3 separate regions of the Homo sapiens genome follow, and all the other regions are linked to region 1. Evidence: promoter capture Hi-C in human tissues and cell types (Jung and others, 2019). All regions are on one chromosome and are shown on one strand. Each heading gives the region's core, a stretch centred on a gene start or on the middle of the fragment in contact. The rest is flanking DNA. Distances are from core to core; before and after follow the strand shown.

Region 1 (3,461 bases), core at 665-3,164:
GAGACAGTCTTGCTCTGTCACCCAGGCTGGAGTGAAGTGCCACAATCTCGGCTCACTGCAACCTCCGCCTCCCAGGTTTAAGCCATTCTCCTGCCTCAGCCTCCTGAGTAGCTGGGATTACAGGTGTGTGCCACCATGCCCGGCTAATTTTTGTATTTTTAGTAGCGATGGGGTTTCACCATGTTGGCCAGGCTGGTCTCGAACTCCTGACCTCAAGTGATCTGTCCGCCTCAGTCTCCCAAAGTGCTGGAATTATAGGCATAAACACTTTTTAATGAAAACTGAGGTTCAGACAGGTTAAGTAACTTGTCAAGGTCACACAGCTGAAGAATAGTAGAGCTAGAATTTGAACGCAGGTCTCTAAGACTCTGCTATACTTGGAGAGAACTTGAATGATGTCCAAGGGGGTTCTTAGTTACCCACTGCCTGCCTTCTGCCTTGCCATGTCCCCATCCACCCACAGGCCAAGACTGCACTGAGTGAGCCAACAGCAGGCCCCAGCATGTGCCACCTGGGGCATGCCAAGGCCTGGACCCTCTGGTGCCCTGGAGGACAATCACGCTGCCAGCACACCCCCACTTGAAGCCTGGCTGACACTCCCACTCCCCACCTCACCCTGGCCTGGGAGGCAGGATGGGCCCCTCTTCAGCAGGTGTTGGGCACAGCCTCATTGCTCCCCGGCTGCTGCAGACTGGTAATGGGTAGGCAAGCCCCAGCCCCCCAGGGCGGTGGAGTGCTCAGGCTTGCCCCGAGCGGCCAGACCTCTGCCCAGGGGACCCAGGCAGGGGGCAGCACAGCGCCCCAAGGGCAGCCAGCCCCTCTGACCTCTCCTCCCCACTTCCCAAGCGTCCTTTCCTTTTCTGGGGAACAAGGTGCCAAGCTTTGGGACTGTCCGCCTTAGGCGGTCAAGACAGCCAGGAGGGACAAAGCGGCGCCCCCTCCCCACAACAGGGCCTTTGCCCCACTCTCGGTTTCGCGTCTGAATCTTTTCCCCACCGCACCCTCCAACGCAGGCCCGGGCGGCTCATGAATGAACTGCACTGTGTGGGGCGCAAGGAGAGGACACGCTCCCGGGGCCGGCCGCCTCTCCAGCCCGCCGACCAGTCAGTCCCCAGAGCCGGGGGCAGCGGCCGGCCTCGTGCCAGCACCTGCGAACCCTGCCCTTGCCCGAGCCCGAGCCCTTACCCCGGACCGGCTTCGGGTGTACTCGCCCCCGGGAGCAGCAGAAAAAATAAAAGGCACAGAAGGCATCGGACTTGGCGACCCCGGGGTCCAAAACTCGGGGGCGGGGGCGGCTAGTTCCCCAAACGGCGGCGGACAGGCGGGGCGCAGCTGGCACCCCCGAGGGTCGCGCAGGGGACGCGCACCTGCACCGGGCAGGTGGGAGAAGAGTGGCACTCGGGGGCCGGGGGCGGGGGTCCCACCCTTTGGGATCTCCCCGGGGCTGGGGAGAGCCGGCGGCGCGTATCTGGACCTCCGGCAGGGGTTGGAGGACTCACATTTGGCTCGGGATGGTGCGGGGTTGGGGGCAGCGCGCGCCACCCCTGGGTCCCGCGGGCCCGGGCACCTCTGGGTCCCGCAGGAGGTTGAAGGGAGGGGACGCGCAGCTGAGTCCAGGTTTTTTCTTTGGGTGGTGGTGGGATCTTCGAAGAAAAGAGCGAGGGCTGGGTAGGGGTCGCGTACTCACCCCCAGGCGCAGACTCGGCTCCGGCTCGGAGCCCCGGGTTGGGGCGGGGCGGGGCTGGGGGAGGGGGAGGGGGAGTCGCTGGGCGGCTCGAGCTCCGGGCTCCTGCGGCGGCCGCGGCAGTGTATGGGGGAGGGGGAGCGGGGGGAGGGAGGGGGAGGGGGCGGAGCCCCGCAGGTCCCGCCCCGCACGCCGGCGCACGCAAGGTGCGCGCGCACTCTCAGATCGCGTCCGCCGGGCTGGGCCTGGCGCGCAGGCGCTAGGAAGAGGCCGCGTGGGGCGAAGGCGGCGCTTGGCTGGTGGGGCCCGCGGCGGGATTTTCCCGGGCGGCGAGAGCGGTATGGTGGGGGGCAGGGGTGGGCGTTAAGTCCTCATTCCCTCCTTCTCCTCTTCCTTTCTCTGCAGTAGGGGAGGCCCACTCCCCGGGGTGAGTGAGGAGAGGCCAGAGTGGGAGGCAGAGCGTCAGTGGGAGGGGTCCCGACGGGGAGGGGGGGGTCCCGACGGGGAGGGGGGTCCCGACGGGGAGGGGAGGCCCCTTACCCGGATCCTCCTCCCTTCCGCTCTCCGTGGGCTGCTTCTGCGACCCCCAAGTCCGTGGCCGGCGCTCACCTGCTTTCCCCGGGTTGCGGCGTCGACTTGGGGAGGGCGGGCTGCGTTCAGCCGTCGCTGGTCACTCCGGAGCGTCTCCTCCGGCTTCTCCGCTTTCCGCGCTCCCCTCCCCTTTCCCAACTTAGGTCTGGAGATGAGTTAGCCAGACGCCTCTGTGGTGTGAGGATTGAGTTTTTGCTTTCACTCTGTCAACGCTGATGAGTGCGCCCTCCCCCAGGCCAGGGGGTTCCCTGGTTTCTTATTTCACCAGAGACTGCATCTACCAGTGATTAAGACTGGAAAGATGAAGGGAGAGACTGAGACTCTTTCTATATATCACCCACACAAATAGATCATAAAGGCACAACGGGCACCAACCTGGTCATTTAATTTCTGGTTCCTGGAGGGGACAAAAAGGAAGTATTGCTTTCCACAGCCGACGATAAATGAACTTTGCCACCGTAAGAGACGGACGGGACTGAATTTATAAAGAGGTTAAAAGGGCATATGACAGACACCTCAGGCTACTTGGGAAACTCTGGGAGTTTGGGAGATAATTAACTCTCAGGGCTGGTGGTGGTGGGGAACTGCCACTGCTGAACAGAAGGACACTGCCCACCTGGGGGGTTTGGATCTTGTAGTTGGTCAGCGTCTCTGCTGTATGCTGGATTTTCAAGAGTTCATTAGTAGCTTGTGGAATGCAACTGTAAGGTTTGATTTATTGCAGTGTTTTTCAAACTGAATCCTATTGGTGAGTTGGAAATCAGTTTAGTAGATCACGGCCACTTGAAATAGAAAATATCAGAGGGTGTTGCACTTAGGGTATTGTTTCTTGACACTTCAGGTGTACACACACGTGTGAGTGTACTAGGAGGTGTTCTACAGTGTGTTTCTGTAGGTCGCAGTGAGAAAAATTTGAAAAGCGTTGTCTCCTGTGCCCTTCTATTTGCCCTCTTGCCTTTCTTTGCCTGAGTTTTCAGTCACTTAAAATTGTCTGAGGATGCAGTTAGCATGCCAGGAATATACAGTAAAGAACAAGGTGGATCTTCTTCACGGAGGTTACTGTGTGAGACGAAAGACAGTTCACTGTTCATCACTGGAAATACTGTACGTGCTACTGAAAAACAAGGATTTTATTGAGGTAAGAAGTTGGTTGGCTTAATTAGGAAGGGCAGTTTTTCAACTGTGA
Region 2 (3,908 bases), core at 966-3,465, 290 kb after region 1:
GGTGAGCCAGAGAAACCAGAAACAATCAAGTTCATCCAATGTGATTCCATTTATACAACGTTCCAAAGTCAGGCCACACTAACTGTCAGGAATAGAAGGCAGAAGAATGCCTGCCTTTGATGGGAGTGACAACTGGGAGGGGACACCAGGCAAGGGTTACAGGAAGCTGGCAAAGCTATATTTCTTGATCTAGATGATGTGTTGCAGGTAAAAGATCACTGCAATATTTACTTATGATTTGTGCAGTTTTCTCAGTGTGTTTTTTAATTAGAGGGAAAAAAAAGTTTACTAAACAATTGGGGGAAGACAGAAACCTGGCCGGGCACAGTGACTCCTGCCTATAATCCCAGTATTTTGGGAGGCCAAGGCAGGAGGATCACTTGAGCTCAGGCGTTCAAGACAAGCCTAAGCAACATAGGGAGATCCTGTCTCTACAAAAAAAAAAAAAGAAAATTTAATTAGCTAGGTGTGGCCGTACATCCCTGTAGTCCTGGTTTTTGGGGGGGCTGAGGTGGGGAGGGTTGTTTGAGCCCAGAAGGTTGAGGCTGCAGTGAGCCATGATCGTGCCACCGTACTCCAGCCTGGGCAACAGAGTGAGACCCTGTCTCAAAAAAGAGAGGAGAAAAGAAACCTATTTGACCTTCACTCAAGGACACCCTCACCTTAAACCTGACCTCTGAGGGGCTTCTGGAGATGCAGCGAGTTTGCTTCCGCCCCTCTGAGCAGCCTGGGACAGTCTTCGGCTACACATCCAGCGTAGGCAAAGTCCTTGGCATTTGTCAGATCTGCAAGGTCAGAGGAGAGGAAAGAGGCATTGGAGCCTTTGATGCAGGATAGCCCACAGAGCCCGCAAAAGTCCTAGAAAGTTTGGCTGCCACCCTAAATCAGAATGAATCACAAAGGATCATTCCAGCCCGGTCCTGCATGAGATCAGGGGTGAGCAAGCTGCGGGTGAACAGAAGTTAAGAATTGGTGAGACACATCAGGCCTGCTCTCCTGCTCAAAGCTGCCGCCTTCAAACAGTCCTCTCTGCCTTGTTATAGTTGTCTAAAAAGGCTTTACTAAAAATCCACTAAAATTAACTCAGTAGGAACTCTTTTTGTAAAAAGAATACTCATCCTTTTGATATATTTTGTGTTGGTGAGGTTTCCATTTTCAGATGACAGGGCCTCTTAATACAGAGTCTACCTTTTTTTTTTTTTTTTTTTTAATAATCAACTTCAATTTTCCACGAAGGGAAGGCAGGGAGGTTGGTTTACAGGTTATCCATAGCAGGAAGTCTAATTCCAGGTAGAGCAGTCAGGCTTTCCATGATTACAGCAAATTGAGTACTGGCATTGTCTGTGTGCCTTTGTAGGAGTGAGAAAATGTTAAAAATGTGATTAGAAATTGCAAACCCCTGGCTCAGGAATGAAATGGTGAAAAACAAGCACAACCTAAAGCATTATCAGATTTAACCAATAGTTTTAATATGCTAACAGGCCCCAGAAGAGACTGCCACCAACAACGTATAAACTTGTGAGCACCGTAATATTGAATCAACATATTGTTGTATCTTTTTTTTTTTTGGTCAGGGATGGGGTGGGGATGGAGCTTCACTCTTGTTGCCCAGGCTGGAGTACAATGGCGTGATCTCGGCTCACCGCCACCTCCACCTCCCAGGTTCAAGCGATTTTCCTGCCTCCACCTCCCAAGTAGCTGGAATTACAGGCATGCACCACCACGCCTGGCTAATTTTTGTATTTTTAGTAGAGATGGGGTTTCTCCATGTTAGCCAGGGTGGTCTCGAACTCCCAACTTCAGGTGATCCACCTGCCTCGGCCTCCCAAGGTGCTGGGATTACAAGCGTGAGCCACCGCACCCTGCCTGAATCAACATATTGAAGGAATATGCAGCTGACCTTAGCAGAGACTTTCAGGAGCCTTTTGCTGGCTGTAGACCAGTCTAGACCATATGGTGGGCTGGCTTCTCCCAACAAACTCCTTGACAGACTCAGGCAGGTATAGGGGAGAGGGGCTTGAAGGCCAAATGATCCCCCAAGAAACTCCATAACAGACTTCTCTGCCCAAACAAATTTGAGAAATGATATGTTCAAATGAAACACACACTCTGTTGGTGAGGCTGAGGAAACAGGCTCAAACTCAGCTGGTGGCCCAGTGACTGGGACCACCCCTTAAGGGGGACAACCTGATGATATCTTTCAAAATTAAAAATGCACACGGTCTTTGACCCAGCAATTCTACTCCCTGGAATTTTTCCTGTTGATGCACTCCCACAAGGAGCAAATGACGTGTGGGGAAGGCTATTTGTTTGCAGCATTGTTTATAATAATAAAAGTCTGGAAACAGCCCAGCTCTCTCAAAAAGGGTCTGGCAAAATAACCTCAGGAGGAGCAGCGAACACTTATTGAGTGCTTACTGCACACCAGGCACTGTCCTAAGCCATTTACAAGCTTTATCTTATTGAATCTCCACAAAATGCTTCAAGGTAGATGATGCTGTTATCTTTGGATCACAAATGAGGAAACTGAGTCACTCAGACATTGAGTAACTGGCTCAACATTAAACAACTGGCTTGAACGAGAGCATTCTGCCTCCAAAGACTATGCTCTTAACCACCTTATTATACAATCTCTTCCAAATAAACATTTGAAACATCTGTTTGGTAGAATAAACTGGAGTGAAGAAAAAGAATGAGCCAGCTATCTGTGCACTCACACCAAATGGTCTCCAGATTATTGTTAAGTGAGAGAAAAAAGTTGCAGAACGGTGTGGAGAAAAGTCATCATTCATGTGGGAGGAAAACAGTTTATAAATGTATATGTTTTAGACTACCTTTAGAAGGATACACAGGAAACTGGTAACTCAGGGGCCTCCAAGAGAAGGACTGAGTAAGTGGCTAGAAGAAAGGTTAGAAGAGAGGCTTACACTTCTGTCTGAATTTGTTTTTAACTTCTTATTTATTTTACTTTTTTATTTTTTTAAGCATACAGAAAAGTTGCAAAAATAAGAACTGCTGATGTCCTTCACCTAGGTTCCCTAATTCTTATTGCGCTTGCATTTTTCACTGTGTCCATATAGTATCTCTTATTTATTTCATTTATTTATTTTTTGGAAATAAGGTCTCACTCTGTCGCCCAGGCTGGAGTGCAGTGGTGCGATCTCGGCTCACAGCAACCTCCGCCTCTCAGGTTCAAGCTATTCTCATGCCTCAGCCTCCCCAGTAGCTGGGATTACAGGCGCCTGCCAACACTCCCAGAAAATTTTTGTATTTTTAGTAGAGATGGGGTTTCACCATGTTGGCCAGGCTGGTCTCAAACTCCTGACCTCAAGCAGTCTGCCTGCTTCGGCCTCCCAAAGTGCTGGGATTATAGGTGTGAGCCTCCACGCCTGAACTAAAATTAATTATTTAAAAATAAGACAATGCTAAACAAGTATTTTCTACTTCATAAATTCTGGGAGATTGTTAAAATGCTAGCTGTTCAAATCTCTCAGAAGCAAGCCAATTGCATAGCATTTTCATGAAGTCTATCTTCAAACTCACCCACCTTCTGGAAGAGACGCCTCCCAACCCAGAAGGATGTGCCTGAGCCAAGGGTCTTAGAGAAGGGGCCCAAGGAAGCTTCCAGAACCATAAGTAAGGCCAGAGGCAGCTGTGCCTCGCTCAGGGGTGGGGTAGGGCAGAGACAGGGCTGAGGTGGCCCACAGGGCTCTTGCCTCCCAAGTGGGTTCTCTCTCCACCCAGCTGCCAGTGAGGACCACAGCAGAGAGGAAAGAAACAGATGCATGCCAAGTGTCCGAACAATGCCAGCAAGCCCTCCCAGTCCTGCTGAGTCTCTTTTATTACCTGCCCAGGCCCTGGTGCCATGGGGCTTAGTGTCTGAGATGGACTGAGGCCTCTCATCCTGT
Region 3 (3,594 bases), core at 1,019-3,518, 340 kb after region 1:
AGATCCAGCAACTTGCCCAAGGTCACAGAGCTAGAAAACTCTACTGATGTCAAAAGTAGAGCTCAGCTCTGTCCGATTTCAAATCCTCTCTTCCTACATCCTTGTGCCAAATCACGACGACAATAGCTAACCTTTATCGGGCCCTTATTGCATGCCAGTCATCCTCCTATAACCATCTGCATTTCCCTGAGCACCAGCACTCTCAGCTCTAGTATGGGGACACTACTGCCAATGTCTGGTGTGGGGAGGATGACATGATCATATGTACACGAAACACTGTGAAATAGATATCATGGTGCCTGTTTCAGAGATGGCAAGTGAGATGCAGAAAGGTAATTGTCCTAAACATAGCTGAGAAGCTGTCGGAGCTGGGGCTGTGTTTGGGGTTTGGGTTTTGGACCTCGGGGCTCAGAAATTGCAGCCAGGATTTGAACCCAGGCAGTCAGGCTGGGCCAGGCCAGAAGTGACCCAGTGTTATCAATTCTGGGCTGCCACACAGAAGACTATTAATAGCCATGAGGTGTTTATTGCTGAACAGTCAGCAGTTCCCAGAGGGCAGCTCTGGGTCATGGGACCGCAGCCAGGTCAGCCCCCAACCCCCAGCCCCATGGGGGCTCGTCCCGAGATGCTGGCTCCCCCAGCTGGGCCTCACCCAGCCCCTAGGAACCCTTACCCAACCAGGCGGCTGCCCCGTGACTGGCAATAGTGACCCCTGTCACACTTGTGTGTGTGCGAGCCCGTGTGGATGTACCCGTGTGAAAGAAGATCTATAGTAGGAGTCTCGCTCCAGAAGCGAGGACGCCTCAGGAGGGCATCTGCTGGGGCCAGACCTTCCCCACCAGTCCCAGCCTCAGGGGCCCAGCAAGCCCTGCCATCCTCTCTCTATCTCAGGCTGGCCAGGAGAGCAGCTGGGAGGGAACCCTGGGGAGTGAAGTAGGGGAGACCTGGGGTGGGGGTGGAGATGCCTTTGGGAGCCAAAAGCAAACACCCTCCCTGAATATTTCCCCAGAAGACATCCTCTTGTGGCCTCCCCAGGAGATGGCAGCTCCCAGCTCTCCAAAGTCCCAGGGAAGGGCTTCTCCCCTGCCTGGGTCCCAGAGGCCCTTCCATACCTATACCACAAATCATTTCACCTAAACATCCTGGAACAGACAGGTTTCCACCTTGAGGGAGCTTCTGAAGACAGCCCTGGGGGCATCCGTCCACTGCAGCCTGGCCCAAGCAGCCCTGCCCAGCCTCAGCATTTCTTGCCCAGAGCACAGCTGTGTGTATAAGGGTGGACATCCGGCCTCCTCCATCAGACTGGAGGTTCCCAGTGTGTTTGGGGGACCTAAGAGAAGATTGGCCATGCATTCTGCTCCTGTTCATTTGTTCATTAATTCTACAAATACTCATGCAAGCCCACCTTGTACCTGGTCCTGGGTTCAAAGCCACAGGGCATCATCCCTACCAGGAAGGGCTCTCCACACCCTCTTTTCCCTTCAGTCCAATCCCTTTCTCTCACTGCTGGGCTCCAGGGCTGAACCTGCCCTGGCGTGCCTCACTCCTCAGCAGGAGAGTAAGGATGCATGCTTGCAAAAATGGTTATAAAATCCAGCCAGACCATTTCAGGTTTTTTTAAAAAGTGGGAAAAAAGCCCCACAAACAACCAAAATGTACTAAAGGGGGCACTCAGAGAGGAAAAAGCATTGGCATGGAGACTAGAATAACAACAAGATGATAATGACTTTTTTTTTTAGGACATCCTATGTACCAGTCACTTCATGAGGTACTTTTACATGTCAATGTCACTTCAGGCCCTCAAACTCCATCATGTAGGTGTTACTGTGCCCATTTTAGATGAGAAAGTTGAGGTGCAGGCAAGTAATTTCTCCAGTGGCAGACCCAGGATTCCAATCTAGATCTGTCAGAAGTCTTGATGGGACTTAGGGCGGCCCAGATTAGGCTCTGCAGAGGCATCCAAAGAGAGGTCCCTATGGCCGGGCCTCACAGGGCATCACCTCCTCAGAAGCTTCCAGCCCCAGGACAGCTGGATGAGCTACAGACAGGGAGTAGGGGAACAGTCTTCCTGCAGGAAGTCTGAGGAGCTGATGAACAGGGTTCTCAGGCCTCTCCAGGAGAGGAGACAGGAGAAGCCCAGGAAAGGGACATGTGCTAGCATCTGCTCCACTTGGAGCCAGACCCAGGGACCGTCAGGGGATGTGTGGAGAAAATCAGGGCCCAGGCTGGTGAGCCACGCATGGCTGATGACAAACACAAGAGAAGCCCTGTGAGCATTGTGAATGCGCACCGAGAGTGGAGGGAAGGATGGGGTACCAGCATCCGGTGACTCCGAACAGTGCAACAGCCAAATGGTGGCAGGGTGGTGCCTTCCCGAAACTAGTATCCAAAGAAATGTCTGATGGCAGAAGCTCTGTCTCCTCCCTCAGATTAGATACTCTGTAAGGACCGGGAGCATCCTGAGGGCCAGGGCCATGTCAATCCTCCTTGAGACTGGGAGCTCCCTGGGAGCAGTACTTGCACTTCCCTCATAGAGAGACTAACTCCCCAAAGGCAAACGCAGCCTTTGAAAATCTTTGTCAGATCCCGGCCCCCTCTTGTCCTGGGAGACTCAAGCCCAGCCTTGCACCATAGGCACCTGTGCCTAGTGGGCCCTTTCCTCTGACTCACTGCTCCCTGGGTTCTAGCTCTTCCCCTTCCACGTCACCCCTTCTGTTCCTTCTCAGCAGATGCTCAGTCAAGCCCTGTCTTTGCCTTGCATTTTCCTTTTCTAGGCAGATTATAAATATTTACTGATTCCTTCCCTGCCCTCCCCTAGTCCCATGTCCTAATGGACAATGTCCTGCGGATGTAGCTGAATTATCTCTCTCCCAGCAACTCTGAAGCCAACCTGATGGAGCCTTCCAAGGGTCAGCCCATCCATCCCCCACCTCTAGGCTGGCTCATGCTAAAGCCCCTCCTAGTAAATGAGAGACCATCCCTGCACCAGGGCATAGTACATATGGCTGGTATTCCATAAACGCTGGAGGATGGAAGGAAGAAGGGAAGAAAAGGATTCCACAGTCTTTTCCTCCAAATCCCTCATGCTGTGCTCTCTGGCAGTTCTTCTCATCCTCTATCCTCTATCCCCCATGCTGTAGGTGAGGCCCACTTTCTCTTGGTAAGACTCCAGTACAACCAAGTCACTCTCCTCACTCTAGAAATTAGGACAATATTTTGTCCTGCCTGGGTCAGCCCTTACCCTGACTTCTCACCAAACTTACCACCATGGCAGATGCCTGGTCTCTGATTCCCTTATAAACACACCCTTCTTTCCTTGAACATCCCTCCATCCACTTCATGAATACCAGTTAAACCTTATGGATGGGAAGGGACAAACACCCTAATGCCAAGGAAATGACTGTTTTGTTAGATGGCTCAGTTATTATTGAGGAATAATAACCACCCCAAAACTTAGTAGCTTTAAACAACACAGTGCATACATTTGCTTACAACTCACTAAACTGGGGCAGGGATGGCTTCTCTCTACTTTATGTGTTGTTGGCTAGAGTGGCTCACCTGGCGCTAGGGAATCCAAAGTGACTTCACTCACAT

Evidence for each region. Contacts are between HindIII fragments. The study calls those that stand out against the background at their distance.
Region 2: a contact is called between a fragment that was not itself captured here and the fragment with the promoter of MRPL14 in region 1, in 2 of the 25 tissues and cell types used here (IMR-90 fibroblasts and mesendoderm cells).
Region 3: a fragment that was not itself captured here is called in contact with the fragment with the promoter of MRPL14 in region 1 in 2 of the 25 tissues and cell types used here (lymphoblastoid cells and spleen).

The regions. Positions count from the first base shown.
Region 1 is chr6:44,125,905-44,129,365 of GRCh38, reverse strand. It overlaps MRPL14 (mitochondrial ribosomal protein L14), which reads left to right and starts at 1,914. Exons shown (of 3, transcript NM_032111.4): 1 at 1,914-2,022. TMEM63B (transmembrane protein 63B) reads right to left here and starts at 1,812. Exons shown (of 24, transcript NM_018426.3): 1 at 1,688-1,812. RefSeq lists silencers at 1,132-1,291, 1,472-1,581, 1,622-2,021, 2,042-2,091, 2,122-2,181. The HindIII fragment of the contact is 18,233 bases long and covers 1-3,461 here.
Region 2 is chr6:43,839,388-43,843,295 of GRCh38, reverse strand. It overlaps LOC105375070 (a long non-coding RNA gene), which reads right to left. Exons shown (of 3, transcript XR_007059588.1): 2 at 663-785. Among named protein-coding and RNA genes, the nearest start is that of LINC02537, 11 kb to the left of the region's middle. The HindIII fragment of the contact is 4,197 bases long and covers 117-3,908 here.
Region 3 is chr6:43,791,046-43,794,639 of GRCh38, reverse strand. No RefSeq gene overlaps it. Among named protein-coding and RNA genes, the nearest start is that of VEGFA, 23 kb to the right of the region's middle. The HindIII fragment of the contact is 5,264 bases long and covers 1-3,594 here.